2 separate regions of the Homo sapiens genome follow, and region 1 is linked to region 2. Evidence: promoter capture Hi-C in human tissues and cell types (Jung and others, 2019). All regions are on one chromosome and are shown on one strand. The core of a region is centred on a gene start or on the middle of the fragment in contact, and the rest is flanking DNA. Distances in the headings are between cores, read along the strand shown.

Region 1 (3,014 bases), core at 353-2,852, 47 kb after region 2:
TGTTAGGGTTGTAGTTCTTGGAGACGTGAGGACTGGAGTTTGTCTTATTGTGATAGTAGGTGACTTTAGTGACCCTCAGTCCTTGAGTCTGACATACTTTGATGAATTTATGATCTTTATTTGTCCATGGACACTTTTAAACTCCTCTTTCTTTGCTCCCTTGAATCTAATAAAGGTAATCACTTGTTTTCTGCTTCAGATCTGTTTATATTTATGAGACCTAATGATATGTTATGCCTTTGGGGAAGAGAGGAAAAATTCCTCTTGATTCTTGAGCTGGGGGAGGGGGAGAGCAGTAAGCCACATTCTTTATTCCCATATGTTTAATAAAGATTGCAGCGGTACTCATGACTCCTCATCTATTCATACGGGGCTGTATTGGTGCTGTGTTGCTGCTTCTGAGATTGGCACTGTTATATTATTAATAGTACTGATCACACATGCCTCGCATTTAATACAGAACATAAGAGCCTCACCTGGCATGAATGAAAAATCTCAAATTGAAAGTGTAGATACTATAAAATTTTTAAAGAAGGGAATACATTATGGTTGAACTTTCAAAATACAAATAGTGTATTTTTAATAACCAAGTTATGAATGTCCTTGGATTCTTGTGTTAGGGAGGTGGAGAAAGGAAAGAAAGTGGCTTCCTCTTACCTTTATGCGAAATAGAATCTGGAGACACACAGAACACCAAAGATCTAAGTTACACTGACAAAAGCAAAAACAAAAAGCCCAAATCCACACCGGAGTTTAGGAAGGCAGCATTCCGTTATTAACTCATCCAGTTATGCCAATAATGGCAGAGATCTCAGAACAGTTGGAAGTTTATATACACAAATGTATGTGCTGAAATACCACACTCTGATGACATTCGATGGAGAGGTAACCTTTGATGATGAATTTTCTTGCCCTTTTTAGGGGAGTGAAAGGGGAGGCGGGTGGTACTTCACAAGACTCTAAATTTACCAAAGTTTTTCAAATTTAAATTTTCTTAGAAAAAAATGTCAAATGATTGTAGATCCAAAAATGCCTTTGTTGGCATTTTAATGGTGCTTTTTGAGCCCAGTATGGAGTGTAAGTGAAAAGAAAAGCAGTTTCTTTCTTGGTAATGTGGTATTGAATCCGAAGCCTCGGACCATACAATGTCCCAGGAAGCTTCGTGATTTATATATTGTATGTGATCTTTTCTTAAACATTGTTAACCTGTGCCCTTTACAGACAATACCAGGTCAGAAAATGTCAGGGGAGCTTTGGATTGCCTTCATAATTGTGTAAAGAAAATTATTGTCCTCAAAATCCAGAGACTATGACAGGCGTTCTTAATAGAGTGATATGTTTAGAGACACAAACAGCATGTATGGGGCTGCTTTTAGCTGGCGGGGTAGGAAAAATATTTGAGTGATATTTTACTTTTGGTTCAGACCAATTGTGGATAAGAAAAAATGTTGCTACCTGTCAGGCTGTTGTAGACACCTATTAAATTTGTTGGAAAGGTGAATTCTCAAAGCAGGAAGCCTTTTGAAATGCTTATTCACACTCAGACAATTTATTATAGACCTAGAGAGAGGCTTAGTGTGGAGCGCGGGACTAGGTGATCCCCATGAGAAGAGTGGCTTGGGCGCAGGGCTGTGAGAGGGAGGGGCAGGGGAGGCCAAGAGAGTGGCTAGGTGACAAGAGCCATCACTTAAAGCCAGTGGAAGCAGGAAGTGGGCCCTGGTGATCTGTGGCATTCTGCATTCCTTCCTGACTGGCTCTGCCTCCTGGGACCTGTCAACCCCTCAAGTTAGTTAAGAGCTACATTTGGGAACGAACACATTCTGTTACAATCCTATTTGCTTAGGTGCAAATGAAAATGTGTCTTCTTGTTCCTCTTATCATTTAGGTCATTAAAGAACAAGATTTAAGTGAAAATGAGAAAAGAGACAGTTCTTTGGCAGAGCAGAAACTGTGTAACTATTTTCAACCCCTGTGTTTTGAAACAACAGTGGTTTACTTCAGCTCTTTCAGAAAGAAGAAAAAAAAATCAAATGTGTGGGCTTGACAGGTGGTTTTGCCAAAGTACAGACCAGAGTTGCATTCAGAGTGCCACATCATTTCTTCTCAAAAAGTTCACTTTCTCGGTAAACACCAAATAAGAACCTATAAAAAGGAGCCTAAAAACATGATTTTATTTCATGAGACTTAAAATGCCTTGCCTGTCTAATTTTTCTATGGTTTTTCAGCTTTCAAGGTGGTTGGCATTACGTTCTTTATCTTTATTTGCAGCCAAGGTGGGCTCGGCTCGTGGGCTTGTGGCAGAGCCGTCCCCCGTGCCCAGGCTCCCATGGCATGCAGCTAGCAGCGGCCAAGCTTAGCGCCTCGCCTACCACATCCACCTTCTGATGGCAGTGCCCACCAGTGGAACGAACTCTCTCCACACCTCATTATTTCTACAACCTTGAGTGAATTTGCAAATTAATTGATGTGTGGGAGGGAAGGCATCTGCTATTGTAAAAACCTTTAACTGTGGCAGTAAAACTTGAAATAAAATTAAGTGTTACTATAGTAAACTAATAGTCACCAGGTGATAAAGCACATTTTGTAGTGTGTAGGGGCTTCCATTTTCAGGATCTGTTTAACTTTGAGGCCCTGTTTTTTTTTTCCTGGTATAGTTTTTATTTTCATCCAAGGAACATAAGTACGTAGTTTAAAAGGCAAATAAATAATACTACAAGATTTATACCAGATGTGTTGGTCTTGCCCAACTCTGCTATGCCACTCCTCAGAGGCAACTCCTTTTAAGTCTGTATTTCATTGTTTATTTTTTTTAGAGGAGGGGTCAGGCTGGACTGTAACTCCTGGGCTCAAGTGATCTCCCACTTCAACCTCTCTGAATAGCTGGGACTCAGGTGTGCCCCACCATACCTGGCTTCTCTTAACTCTTTTAGCTCTTTCCTTGGATACTTGCCCACATTTTCCTAAATAACCTGCTTAGACTGCTGTTTTAGAAGTTATCTGTTGCCTCTGCCATG
Region 2 (3,395 bases), core at 744-3,243:
AGCAATTTTCCTGCCTCAGCCTCCCAAGTAGCTGGGATTACAGGTGCCCACCACCACGCCCAGTTAATTTTTTGTCTTTTTAGTAGAGATGGGGTTTCACCACGTTGGCCAGGCTGGTCTCGAACTCCTGACTTCAAATGATTCACCCACCTTGGCCTCCCAAAGTGCTGGGATTACAGGTGTGAGCCACAGTGTATGGCCTGACACAGATATTTCTTGAAAAAGTATAGGTCAGTCAGTTATTTTGTCACGTTTTTCAGTTTGAGTTCTATTGATGTCCTGATTAGATTCAGGTTATGCACTGCTGGCAAGAATATCATGGAGGTCATGTTGTGCTCTTTCCAGTGCATTGTATCAGGAGGTGCACAACATGTCCCGTCACTGGTGATGTTGACCTTGGCCTTTTGGTTAAGCTGGTGTCTGCCATGTTTCTCCACTGTGAAGTCACTATTAAGTCACTATCCATCCCCCCTTATGTTTACATTAATGAATTGTTTAAAATTTTTTGGTAAAATATACATAATATAAAATCAACCATTTTCACTGTTTCTAAGTGTCCAGTTCTGTGGCATTAAGTACAATCACATTGTTGTATGGCCATCACCACCATCCAGCTGTAAAACTTTTCCAAGTCTGTACTCTTTAAGTACAGACTTAAATATGGCCCTTTGCAATATTATGCTGAAATCTTCCTCTCTACAGCCTTCCTACAACTGGTTATTGTTATTGCCACTAGTTAACCAAGGAGGACTCTTGTCTTGGGTTGACATGAAGGTGAGTTGAAGGTCACAATCATGATCTGCCTCCTGCTCTCCTCTTCTCTGCTCCAAGCTATGCAACCCCAGCTCCTCTAAGGAAAGAACATGAGGACTTGGGCAGGTTCCCTTTAGTAAAAAGATAATAAATTTTCAGAAACCTGTCTATAGCCAACAGGACAAAGAGACATTGAATTTTTCCATAAAGCCAGATTTGGCCAACATTTTGTTGGTTTTATTTAAATCCCAAACCTTCTCTTTCTTCCACAACCTCTATGCTATGTATGTTATTTTCAGAGGTGTGTGTTCACTGTAAACCAGCCACCATTCTACTTTCTGTCTCTAACATTTTGACTACCCTAAACACCTCATATAAGTGGAGTCACACAGAATTTTGTTTTTTTGTGACTGGCTTATTTCACTTAGCATAATGTCTTCAAGTTTCCTCCAGGTAGCATATGTCAGAATTTTCTTGCTTAAGCCTGAAGAATTTTTCATTGTATGCCAGTATCACACTTTGTTTATTCATCAGTTTATGGACACTTGGGTTTCCCCTGCCTTTTGGCTATTTGGTGAATAATGCTGTTATGAACATGTGTACAGGTATTGAGTCCCTGCTTTCGCTTCTTTTGGGTATATGCCCAGAAGTGGAATCTCTGGATCATTATTTTCCTCTTCTTAATTAATAAGCATCTTGGGGGACGATACTTTGAGATTACCTAAAAAGCCTGTTATTTTTCTGACACTTTCACCCACTAGTTTTAGCATCCATCGATTTCTATCTGAATCAATTATTCTAATGGCTGTCAAATGGCAATTTTCTAATTCCATCACTCTTTCTGCATTTATGAGCTGGCATTCTATTGGAAAGAAGAAACTTTCCTTCTCCCCGCTTTATTTATGAATATGGACTCATTTTATTGAATGGGCTATGTTCCTTTCCTTTTTACACTATTGCTCTGAGCAATTCTTTTCCCTATGATTCCCCAGAGTGCAAGTTTGGGGAAATGCGGGAACTTTCTGTATTTCTTTGTCACCATTAAGCAAACCGGGAGTGCAACCTGACTTCCCCAAGTTGAGAAAAATCACTTTCCTGCCCATGCATTAGTTTAGCTCAAGGGGAAACCCTTTTTCGAAAGTGCTTTCTGGGTAGCCCCGCGCGAACTGCATTTCCCAGAGGTCTTCGGAGATACGTCATCAGCGAGCGCGGCTTTTTTGCTTGCGAAGCCGGCTTTGGAGAGCTGCTGTGGCGGCGGCAACATGGCGGACGTGATAAATGTCAGTGTGAACCTGGAGGCCTTTTCCCAGGCCATTAGTGCCATCCAGGCGCTGCGCTCCAGCGTGAGCAGGGTGTTCGACTGCCTGAAGGATGGGATGCGGAACAAGGAGACGCTGGAGGGCCGGGAGAAGGCCTTTATTGCGCACTTCCAGGACAACTTACATTCGGTCAACCGGGACCTCAAGTAGGTACCGGCTGAAGGGGCCGGGGTCGGGGACCGGCCCCGCTCCGACCCTGCCCCTACGTCGCTCGAGTCTTCCCAGGCAGGGGCTGTTCTCCGTTTCCCTTGATCCCTGTTCTTTCTCTTCTTGTTCTCCAAGCCTCTGCCTGTCCCTCAGGGACATCTTAACACCATCCCCGCTTTCTCGTCTTGCTTCTCCTGGCCTCCTGGTCCTGTTTGTCTTCCGCCATCCTCGACCTCTTCTGTGGCGGTTCCATTCCTAACAAGGAGGCATGCTTTTCCCATGAACTTCCACTTCTCTGAGCTTGGCAGGTTTCTCACCTGTAGGCCCTCTGTGCCCCATCACGTCTGATCCGAATGTAGTAATAGTACAGACAGGACCTGGTCAGTCGGCTCCAAACCCAAGTGCACCCGATCTGATTAGCCCCAATTCCCCGGCCCTGAACTTGGACTTCATCAGTTCCACCACCACCCACCCGCAACCACGACGGACCGGCCAGGCCTTGAGCTGTCTTCACCTTTTCCCCTAACCGCTCCCAAACCACCTGATCAGTTTCCTCACTCCCACTCCTGTGGGAGTTCCTTCCGCAGTAGAGACCTACTCTCTAATCTCTTAACCAGTTTAATTACTTATGCTTAACGCCCCTGCTTCTTAATTTGTAGTCTTTTAGGGTTAAGGATTCCACTTTTCCTCCTCTTCCTTACAAAGTACCTTCTTCACTTACACTTTTTAAGTGTTGTAAGAATTAAATGAGAGGATGTTTGTAAAGGGCCTGGCACATAGTAGGCACTTCTTGATTGCTTAGGTCCTGAACTTGCCTTCTGTTTTATAAGAGAGTCAGTCCTTCCCAGGAAGGTTAGAATTTCAGGATTTTTGCCTTTTACTTCTCAGAACTGACCTGAGTAGGGGAAAGCATTTGGTGAGCTAGTCATCCTTTGATTTCTGGACTGGTTGGATTTTTGTTTTTTCAACTTGGTCTCCTTAGTAACCAGATGGAAAGAGGAGGTAGGATGGAGGAGGAGGAGGAGGAGGTGGCCAAATGATGGGTGCCTTTTTGTTTTCCCCCTAAGTAGTTGCCGTAAATCACACAGCCCTCCTCAACGCCCACATCCGCTTGCTGTTCTCTGGCACCGCGCCGAGCACCAGTTAATACTTTCTCTGCTTCAGGGGATGCACTGG

What was found. Contacts are between HindIII fragments. The study calls those that stand out against the background at their distance.
Region 1: a contact is called between a fragment that was not itself captured here and the fragment with the promoter of MED27 in region 2, in 1 of the 25 tissues and cell types used here (dorsolateral prefrontal cortex).

What each region holds. Positions count from the first base shown.
Region 1 is chr9:132,031,424-132,034,437 of GRCh38, reverse strand. The region is part of intron 2 of MED27 (mediator complex subunit 27); the gene reads left to right. Among named protein-coding and RNA genes, the nearest start is that of MED27, 47 kb to the left of the region's middle. The HindIII fragment of the contact is 4,380 bases long and covers 1-3,014 here.
Region 2 is chr9:132,078,465-132,081,859 of GRCh38, reverse strand. It overlaps MED27 (mediator complex subunit 27), which reads left to right and starts at 1,993. Exons shown (of 8, transcript NM_004269.4): 1 at 1,993-2,218. The coding sequence starts at 2,016. RefSeq lists an enhancer at 1,817-2,096. The HindIII fragment of the contact is 14,332 bases long and covers 1-3,395 here.